Regions from separate parts of the Homo sapiens genome. Here regions 1 and 2 are each linked to region 3. The links are contacts of gene promoters, found by promoter capture Hi-C in blood cells and fetal thymus (Javierre and others, 2016). All regions are on one chromosome and are shown on one strand. The core of a region is centred on a gene start or on the middle of the fragment in contact, and the rest is flanking DNA. Distances in the headings are between cores, read along the strand shown.

Evidence for each region. The method cuts DNA at HindIII sites, captures the fragments that hold promoters and counts their contacts. A CHiCAGO score of 5 or more calls a contact.
Region 1: a contact is called between a fragment that was not itself captured here and the fragment with the promoter of GPR83 in region 3, in 1 of 17 cell types (megakaryocytes). The highest score is 7.1, in megakaryocytes.
Region 2: a fragment that was not itself captured here is called in contact with the fragment with the promoter of GPR83 in region 3 in 3 of 17 cell types (M1 macrophages, M0 macrophages and endothelial precursors); the score reaches 7.5 in M1 macrophages.

The regions. Positions count from the first base shown.
Region 1 is chr11:93,935,649-93,939,193 of GRCh38, reverse strand. It overlaps the pseudogene LOC101060084. Among named protein-coding and RNA genes, the nearest start is that of HEPHL1, 84 kb to the left of the region's middle. The HindIII fragment of the contact is 162 bases long and covers 1,996-2,157 here.
Region 2 is chr11:93,910,429-93,914,004 of GRCh38, reverse strand. It overlaps the pseudogene LOC101060084. Among named protein-coding and RNA genes, the nearest start is that of VSTM5, 62 kb to the right of the region's middle. The HindIII fragment of the contact is 3,124 bases long and covers 627-3,576 here.
Region 3 is chr11:94,400,008-94,403,521 of GRCh38, reverse strand. It overlaps GPR83 (G protein-coupled receptor 83), which reads left to right and starts at 2,103. Exons shown (of 4, transcript NM_016540.4): 1 at 2,103-2,661. The coding sequence starts at 2,275. The HindIII fragment of the contact is 12,804 bases long and covers 686-3,514 here.

The DNA of each region.
Region 1 (3,545 bases), core at 827-3,326, 460 kb after region 3:
ATAGTTGTCAGAATTTACTGAGGAGGAAATTGAGGCTCAGAGATGGCTGTCTGATATGAGGCAGATACAAGGCTCAAATCTGAACTTTTGACTCCAAGTCAAAGGTTTCTTCTGTGGAATTTCACTGCTGGTCACTTAGATGAAGAGAGAAAGACCAGTACAGAGAAAGGAATTCGAGGGTACCGTGATGTGGTTGGAGCAGTAAGGGAAGGGCTTTGGACAACAGGGACTTGAACTGGATACGTGGGAAAGAGAGGTTGTCCAGGCAGAAGGAACAGCAGGGGCAAAGGGAGGAAGCAGGAGCTGGCAGGGCCTCTGAGAGCCACCCTAAGGGGGCCAGTGACTGGGACAGTGGGGTAACACAGGCAGACCTGGGAGTAGAGAAGCCCTTCTACCTGTGAATTTCAATGGATGAACACTCACACAAAGCTAAGCTGAACCCTGGTGCCAAAGTGCCCTTGACCCAAACATGGTATGAGCATCCTTTTGCCCTCCACCATATTGTAAGGGCACATTCCCTACGCTAGGATGGTTGTAAGGATTTACCATAACTAATTTTTTTTTCCTGGAGACAGGGTCTTGCTCTGTCACCCAGGCTGGAGTCCAGTGGCACAACCATGGCTCACTGTAGCCTTGACCTCCCAGACTCAAGCGCTCCTCCTGCCTCAGCCACCTACTAACTGGGACTACAGAAATGCACCATGATGACCAGCTAATTTTTTAAATTTTTAGCAGAGATGAGGTCTGACTATGTTGCCCAGGCTGGTCTCGAACTCCTGGGCTCCTGTGATCCTCTGCCTTGACCTCCCAAAATGCTACTACAACAATTAAGAAGAGCATCCTTACAATGGAAACAAAAGTAGCCATTAAAAAGGAGGTTGAAAGTGATAAGGAAAGAACAAATACTATACATCCTAATGTCTGAGGCATTTGACAATACAAATGATTCTCAAAATCAAAGAAAATTCTGCCACATGTGAGAAGTGCTATAACTTTGCAATGTACAGCAGTCAGCTAGATATGAGAAAGAGATGAGTAAAATGCAAAGATTTTGAGTATGCAACTTGAGGATCAGCATGAACTCTAAATACACATTAGACTATTGTTGGAAATAGACTAGGAGTTTACTTATTCAATCATTCCATAAATATTTGTTGAGCATCTACTATGTGCCAAGAACCATTCTAGATACTGAGCATAGAGCAGTGAACAAAATCAAGTCCCTGCCCCCATGTAGTTTTTATTTTATAAGGAGAAATGGATGACAAACAACATATTTATTAGGTGCTGATATGTGTCCTGAAGAAAAATCAATAAGGACAACTGAGTTAAAGAGTACTGGTGTGAGAAGGCCCAAGGAATATTGGTGCTTGTGTTCAGTGGTCAGGAAGACCTCTCAAATAAGGTGGCTTTGATCAGACACCTAACTTCTTTGAGATCCGGAAGTTTAAACATGATGAAAACGCCATCAATGAAACTTTTTGTAAGTTTTAATTTTTTTAATTTTAATTTTAATTTTTTATTCTTTTATTTTTTGAGACAGGATCTCACTCTGTCACCCAGGCTGGAGTGCAGTGACACGATATTGGCTCACTGCAACCTCCACCTCTCGATCTCAAGCAATTCTCCCACATCAGCTTCCCAAGTAGCTGGGACCACAGGTGCACACCACCATGCCCAGCTAATTTTTTTTTCTTTTTACTTTTTGTAGAGATGGGGTCTCTCTGTGTTGCTCAGGCTGGTCTCAAACTCCTGAGCTCAAGCAATCCTCCCGCCTCAGCCTCCCAAAGTGCTGGGATTACAGGCATGAGCCACTGCACCCTGTCAAGTTTTAAATTTTAACTATTTATTTAACTTTTATTTAGTTAGAGAGGCAGTGAACTTATGCTGCAAGACACAGCAAATCCAGTAGGTTCTAGAAGGTAGGTCCCAAAAATGTCATCACGCTCAAGAGACCTGCATGTCAGTCGCGTGCACACCAGAACTGCCAAAGCTTTCTCAGACAGTTGCAGGAATCCTCAAAGAGCAAGGTTACCTGCTTGCCTTGCTCCTGCCTCATTCGACTGCAAAAGGAATAGAAATGCATCTCTTTTGACAAACAATGTGTAATAAAATAGTCACCCCTAATAGGCAATGAGTGTGTCTAAGTTTAAAGCTTACAATTAACTCACATTTCTATTAGGTAGAAATGATCTGGGAGATACAAACTTGAACTCTTTTTGTTCCTTTGCCTTTAAAACCTACGTTGTTGGTGAGCAGGTAAGGCATGGGAACTCATTTTCCTCTCACATAGCCCTTCACAGGACAGACACAGAGGCATCTGCTTTGCTTTACAGAGAACGCTGGTAAATCTCTGAATGCTGGGATTTTCAGGATCTGCCAATGAGCAACATGTGCTCTCAGCTTAGCCCAGAAGGAAAATTCTTTCCAATTTGGAGAGTGTTTTTCACGCATCATGCTGGCATCAGCCTGCCAGTCACTCTCATAATTCAAATCCAGCAGAGCAAAGCAAGCAAAGCTCAGAGGAAACAAACCAGCCCAGCCACAGCCCTCATGGCCTGACTTACGTGCTCTATCCCCAGGGAAGGTGGGTTGGCCCCTAATGAATCTCCCACAAGCCAAACTAAGGACTCTGAGCTAGACTGTTCTGGGAGGGAAATGAGATCTTATCCTTTAATTACTTAATGTCCCTAAACACTCTAAAATCCATCCTCTGTGCTGTTTGGACCACAAGCTCTGGGGTCATTACCTGAATTTCTGACTCAGCTTCACCACTCACTGTGTGACTGTGGGCAAACTGCTCAGTTTCTCCACCTCATAGGAATGTTAGGATAAAATGAAATTAAACAAAATGAGAACCTACTATGTGCCTGGCACATAGCTCAAAATAATGTTAGCTAGTGGTATTATTTCTGCCCTTTGTCTCTTGCCTGGACTATTGCAGTGGTCTCCTAATGGTTTTCTACCTCCAGTCCCCCGCTAAAGCCATCCAAAAAATTGTTGCCAAAGTATTCTTGAAGCACATAAATCTGATTCTAAAACCCTGCAGTGATTCCTCACTGCCCTCAGAATATATCTAGATTCACCTGCAGGGCATATAAAACCCTGTCATCTGACACCTCTGTACACCTGCACTATGCTGTTTGTTCAGCCCAGAATGCCGGTTTCTCACCTTGACCACCTGCTAAGCTCCTGCTCATCCCTTAAGGTTTGCCGTGAGCATCATTTCCTCCAACGTCTCCCTGCCAATCATAGTCAAGCATCTTTTTCTTTGCTTCCTGTGGAACATTCAGTATTGACTTTACGATGGCACTTAGTACACTGTACTGTCATTGTTAGCCTGGATTTCTTCCTTTATAGAATGTTCAGTTTAGCCATAAGAGGCCAAAGGACAAGAGAGAATGACAACCCACAGTCAATGGGATGCCTTTACTCTGTTTTTCCATCACCTCAGCCAGCTAGCAATACACAGAATACATGCAAAGCCATGCCATCCTATGCTTGTGATGTTAAGGATGTCAGACTTTATTGTGAAGAGGCAATAG
Region 2 (3,576 bases), core at 939-3,438, 490 kb after region 3:
CTGATAAACAAATTCAGTAAATTTGCAGGATACAAAATCAACATACAAAAACCAGTAGAATTTCTATATGCCAATAGCAAACAGTCTGAAAAAGAAAATAATCCCATTTACAATAGCTACAAATGAGATTAAAAAGTGAAAGATTTCCACAAAGAAAACTAGAAAGCACTGATGCAACAAATTGAAGAAGACACAAACAAATAGAAAGATATTCTGTGTTCAGGGATTTGAAAAATCAATATTGTTAAAATGTTCATACTACCCAAAGCAATCAATAGATTCAATGCAATGCCTATAAAAATACTAATGACATACTTCAAAGAAATAGAAAAAATAATCCTAAAATGTATATGAACCACAAAAGACCCAGAGTAGCCAAACCATCCTGAGCAAACAATAATAATTAAAGGCCTAAATAAATGGAAAGATATCCCATGCTCATGGATTGGAAGACTTAATAATGTTAAAATGATAATGCTATCCAAATCAATTAACAGATCCCACACTATCCCTATCAAAATCTCACCTGTCTTTTTTGCAGAAATTAGCAGGCTGGTCCTAAAATTAACATGAAAATACAAGGAACCCAGAATACCCCAAATGATCTTGAAAAAGAAAAACAAGCTTGGATGACTCACACTTTCTAATTTTAAAACTTACTACAAAATTATAATAACTTGGCGTAAGGATACACACACAGATTAATGGAATAGAATTGACAATTCAGAAATAAACTCTTATATTTACTGTATAGCCAATTAATTTTGACAAGGGTGCCAAGACAATTCAATGAGAAAAGAATATATTTTTCAATGAAAGGTGCTGGAACAACTAGATGACTGTAAGAGAAAAAATGAACCTGGAACCCTATCTCACATAATATACAAAAATTAAATCAAAAGGAATTATAGACCTAAATGTAAGAGCTAAAACTAGGAAGTTTTAGACGAAAGTATAGAAGCAAATATTTGTAACCTTGGATTAGGCAATGGTCTCCCTACATAAGGGACCAAAAGCACAAGCAACAAAAGAAAAAGTAAATAAATTATACTTCATCAAAATTGAACAATTTTGTGCTTCCAAGGACACTGTCAAGAAAGTGAAAGGACAAGCCCCAGAATGGGAGAAAATATTTGCAAATCATATATCTGATAAGGAATTTGTAACCAGAAATCAAATACAGTTCTTTAACTCTTACAACAATAAAAAGACAAATAATCCAATTTTTAAAAATGCAAAGGAAATAGACATTTCTCTCAAAAAAAAAAAAAAAAGATATACAAGTGGCCAGTTACCATATTAAAAGATGCTCAATATCATCAACCATTAGGGAAATAAAAATCACAACTGCAATGAGATAATACTTCATATCCTCCAGGATGGCTAAAATCAAAATGACAGACAATGACAAATGTTAGCAAGAATTCAGAGAAATCGGGACTTTCACACACTGCTGATGGAAAACTTTGAAAAACAGTTTGGAAGTTTCTCAAAATAAAAGTGGCAATTCCACTCCTAGGTATCTATGCAAGATAAATAAAAACATATGTTTACACAGGAACTTGTACACAAATGTTCATAGAAGCATTATTCTTAATAGCCAAAAAGCAGAAACAACTCAAATGTTCATCAATTGATGAATACATTTTTAAATGTGATATATTCATACAATAAAATATTATTCAGCAATAAAAGGGAGTAAAGCACTCGAAAGAAAGAAAGAAAGAAAAGAAAAGGAAAGAAAGAAGGAAGGAAGGAAGGAAGGAAGGAAGGAAGGAAGGAAGGAAGGAAGGAAAAAGAAAGAAAGAAAGAAAGAAAGAAAGAAAGAAAGAAAGAAAGAAAGAAAGAAAGAAAGAAAGAAAAGAAAAGAAAAGAAAAAGAAAGAAAGGTTGCCAGATGCTCGGGGGATGGAGATTGATTGCTAACAAGTATGGGGTTTTTTTTAGGGTGAGGAAAATATTCTAAAGTTAGTGATAATAGTTGCATAAAATTATTAATACACTAAAAACTACTGAATTGTATCCTTTTTCATTTTCACTTTTTTTAGAGACAGGGTCTGCTCTGTTGTTGGAGTGCAGTAGCCCAATCATAGCTCACCACAGCCTTGAATTCTAAGGCTCAAGTGATCCTCCTGCCTCAGCCACCTGAATAGCTGGGATCACAGGCACAAACCACAAAGCTCAGCTCTGCAATGTATATTTTAAAGAATGCATTTTCTGCTATGCAATAAAACTGTTATTGTGGGGGATGGGGGGAGGAAAGGAAAAGCACTGGACTAGGAGTCAGACACGAGTTCAAATCCCAGCTCTGTACTTTCAACCTTGGGCAAGTCACACTGCCATTCTAAGTTCCTCCTCAGCCCCTTATATATGACACTAGATCCTTTGTAGGAGAGTGTGTGCCGAGGCCTAACTCAGAGAGGTTACTCAGTGCATCTTATTTTCTCTCTTCCATCTTCTGTCATCTGAACCCAATCTTCCCTCCTGGATAACAGAAAAAGGCGTCCCATCTCCCCAGAGCATGGACGATCTTTATAACCATTCACCCAGGCTTGGCACTTACTAGTAGCCATTCAAAACTAAAGATAAGAGAGATAAAAAATTAACTAAAAGACAAATTCATAGAGACATAAAGTAGAATAGTGATTACCAAGGCCTGGGGAAGGAAGGCAATGGGGAGTTGCCATTTAATAGGTACAGAGTTTCAATTTGGGATGATGAAAAATTTTGGGAGATAGATGGCGGTAATGTTTGTACAACAATGTGAATATAATTCATGTTACTGAATTGCATACTTAAAATAGTTAAAATGGTAAATTTTATGTATATTTTACCACAATAAATATTCATTAATTTAAAATGTGTCTTTAGGCCAGGCACAGTGGCTCACACCTGTAATCCCAGCACTTTGGGAGGCTGAGGCAGGAGGATCACTTGAGGTCAGAAGTACCAGACCAGCCTGGCCAACATGGTGAAACCCTGTTTCTACTAAAAATTCAAAAATTAGTCAGGCATTGTGACATGCGCCTGTAATCCCAGCTACACGGGAAGCTGAGGCAGGAGAATTGCTTGAACCCAGTAGGCGGAGGTTGCAGTGAGCCAAGATCATACCACTGCACTCCATCCCAAAAAATTTAAAAAATTTAAAAATTAAAATTAAAATAAGTAAAATGTATCTTTAATTAAAATACACTATTAATCAAAAATAATTTTATTCAAGTCAGCCCCACCTAGTGAGAGAATGTAGCTGAATGAGTAACAGGTAGGCTACCTGGCTCTTAGGAAGGAATAAGGCAACGAGAGAGAAGCCTCTGGATTCGCAGGTTACAAGCTGGGGAAGTGGGTGAGGGCAGAGGTGATTCTGCTTTGATGAACAGAAATTGGGGAGAAACACTATAAAAAGAGTTCAGGTCCTTGTCATAGACTGTGCTATCATAGTACATATCATTTCATCCTGTTAGCATGACAAATTGAATCTCAATACTCTTTCTCCAGTTTTCCTGGGAGATAAAATATGCTAACCTATCCAAAAAAAATACTCTCCAGGAAAATCCACTAACACCGAGTCCCCCATAAA
Region 3 (3,514 bases), core at 854-3,353:
GGAAAGCTAAGAACTAAAACACCTCACCTCTTTCAGAAAGAAAGTTTCAGGCTTCTGGTGTAAATGCCCTCACACTTACAAGGTGGGCATGATGAGCAGGGAATCAAAGTGAAGACATTAGTTAGGTGGCCCAGATTACAAATATGCCGGCTAGCAAGCACCTTCTGTGGTACTTGGAAGAGAGTGCTTGGAAGGGCACTGGCTACCTTTGATTTCTTTCTCTGAGCTTGACGCTGACTATTCCTCTTCTATCCATACACTCTTTGTTGACACTGGGCACAGTCAATTGACTAGGATTCTGTTTTCTAAATGACCATCATATTCCGGCCTTGCCTCTCAAGATGATGCCAGGTCATCTTGATGGAGCAGCAAGTCTACCTAAGCTTTTTTCTTTTTGAGACGGAGTCTCGCTCTGTCGCCCAGGCTGGAGTGCAGTGGCGCGATCTCGGCTCACTGCAAGCTCCGCCTCCCGGGTTCACGCCATTCTCCTGCCTCAGCCTCCTGAGTAGCTGGGACTACAGGCGCTTGCCACCACGCCCAGCTAATTTTTTGTATTTTTAGTAGAGATGGGGTTTCACCGTGTTAGCCAGGATGGTCTCGGTCTCCTACCTCGTGGATCCGCCCGCCTCGACCTCCCAAAGTGCTGGGATTGCAGGCGTGAGCCACCGCGCCCGGCCCCCAAGCTTTCAGTGTTTACAGGCAGTCTCTTGGTTTATTTCCTGGAGCTAAAGATGTATTATTTCATCGGCCTAGCACCTTGTCCCTTCTAGGATCTGTCACATAATCCCCTATTTCAGCCATTTAATCCTGTGAGACCTGCCAGGTCCTTCAGTATAATTGAGGGTTATCTGCTAGCCATCCTTTCCTCCAGACACAGTTGCTTGAAGAGTACATGTGAAGTGGAAAACTGGAGACAAGAGTAATACCTAGGTTTGAGTCATTGTTTGGGTCCCAGCCCAAGGACATTGCTCCCCAGGGCACGTTGACACAATGTAAAGAATCTACATGGTGTTTCCTGTTGGGGGTCAGGGGTGGTTACCAGTAGTCAACCAGATATTGCATGTCTTGCACCAGAGGGCAATGCAGTGAGAGATGTATACAGGGGTCTCTGAAAACCTCACATTTAGGAAAAGAAAGCCTTTTAACCAAGGCCAAAAATGTTAAATGGCTTGCCCAAGATTTCACAGCTAGGAAGTGACAAAGCTGGGATTAAACCCTAATTACAGAGCCCATGGTCTTTACTACAGGCTTGTGGGTGGCAGAGGACCCAGTGACTGGGAGAGTTTTCACAGTGGAAGTGAAAACGGGTGAGCAGGATAGCAAGGTTTCCTGAAGAAGTAGATGGGGAAGGAAAAACAGCATGGGTCATAATATCCCTTAAAGATATAGCTTCAAGGACTTCCATGGCAGAAAAATTCAAGTTACCCAAGAGGTGAGCACACAGCTAAACTTCTCTTTTCCTTCGCTTCTTTGATGGTATCCGAACTGCTTTGAAGAGTTTCCTTGAAAAACAAAGCTCCCCAGATTGCATTCCTGGGGGCTGTCAAAGAAACTGTAATCCTTTAATAAGCCCTCCAGCACCTCTGGTATCTGGATACTCCGGGGACTTGGAGAATCCTTAACGTCTCTATTTTTTGGTTTGCCTTTTTCCTGGGACCGCCGGGACGCAGCGATCCATTTCGATATTGAAACTGTGCCAAGGCTAAGGCTTAGGTGGAAACAAATGGAATATATCCTTGTCACTGACCCGGCTTTGCCAGCATGCCCCCTCATCATCCCAAGTGCCCCTGTGGGCTTCCTCCCACCTGCCTGCCCTGCTTCCTTTACAAGAGGCTAAGCCGACACCACGCGAGTGTGTACGCGCTGGGGACTGAGCCCCCGAAGCGAAGCCCTGTCGGAGGAGTTTCAGGCGGGAGTGGGAACGGCTGGGCGTGGGGTCAGCAACGGCGCCACCCGGTAGGGTGGGGGGAGCCAGGCTTGTCAGAGCCAGAGCGCGTCACCGTCGCCGCGAGAGACGCCGCGCTGCCCAATAGGCAGAGGCGCTCCCTAGCAGCCTGGTGGGAGCAGAGATATAAAAGTGCTCCAACAAACCCGGAGCTGGCGTGCCGACCGCGGGCTGGTGGCGGGCGGCGCGGTGCTCCGCGCGTCCGGGCTCCCTGGCTCCTCGGGACGGCCTTGTATGCTGTGCGCCCCGCACCCCGGCTGCGCGCTCCGATCCCAGCGGGAGGGGACGCCCGGCCCGCAGGCTCCCAGGGGAGGGGTGGCTCCTGCAAAATGGTCCCTCACCTCTTGCTGCTCTGTCTCCTCCCCTTGGTGCGAGCCACCGAGCCCCACGAGGGCCGGGCCGACGAGCAGAGCGCGGAGGCGGCCCTGGCCGTGCCCAATGCCTCGCACTTCTTCTCTTGGAACAACTACACCTTCTCCGACTGGCAGAACTTTGTGGGCAGGAGGCGCTACGGCGCTGAGTCCCAGAACCCCACGGTGAAAGCCCTGCTCATTGTGGCTTACTCCTTCATCATTGTCTTCTCACTCTTTGGCAACGTCCTGGTCTGTCATGTCATCTTCAAGAACCAGCGAATGCACTCGGCCACCAGCCTCTTCATCGTCAACCTGGCAGTTGCCGACATAATGATCACGCTGCTCAACACCCCCTTCACTTTGGTAAGGGGCCCGCTGCCTGCCGCCCCACCTTCTGTCTTCGTCTCCCTTTCCTCTCTCAGTTCTCTGGCCTCCCTCTGCCGTTCTGCGTCTCCCTGTGGGTCCCCACTTCTCTCTCCACATCTCTCTTCCTCCTCATTTCTCCTCTCCTCTGCCTCTGTCTTCCTGTCCTAGTCTCTTTTCTCCCTCCTCTGTCATCTCGGTTCTTGTATCTCTCCTGTTTTTCTTAGTCTTTCTTTCAGTCTCTGTCTCTCTCTCTGAAGTCTTTCTGTCTCTCTTCTCTATCTCTCAGTGTCCTCATCTTTTTTTTTTTTTTTGTCTTTCAGCCTCCCTATTCATCTGTCTCTGTCTCCTCACCTGTTATCTCTTTTTCTTCTTGTCAGTCTCTCTGTGATTTTATTTTTCTATTCTCTCTCCTCTCCTCTCCTCTCCCCACCTCTCCTCTCTTCCTCTCTCCCCTGCCTCACTCTCTGATTTCTCCCCACTTTTTTCTGTCTCATCGCCTTATCAGCCAGAGCTTCTGCGGCGGTGGCATTGGGTCAATGGTTTGAGTGTCTGCAGCCAGCTGGAAATGAATGACCATTTCCTGTTTAATCTCACTGGGTCTGGGCTTGCTTGATAATTGAGCAGTAAATCAATGCCCCTGAAATGTCAGCAGAGATGATCAGGTCCCCCTCCCTCTGAATTGCAGCCTGTTCAGTGCCCAGCCGTACCCATGGGATACTGCTTTGTGCTACAACTGAAATATCAAACAATTGCTAATTGTTAATGGAACATTAAGTGCATTTTCCCAGACCACTTATTTAAAGTGCATTTCCCTTCTGTGGGTTGATAATGAGGCTGTGTTTGAGGTCTG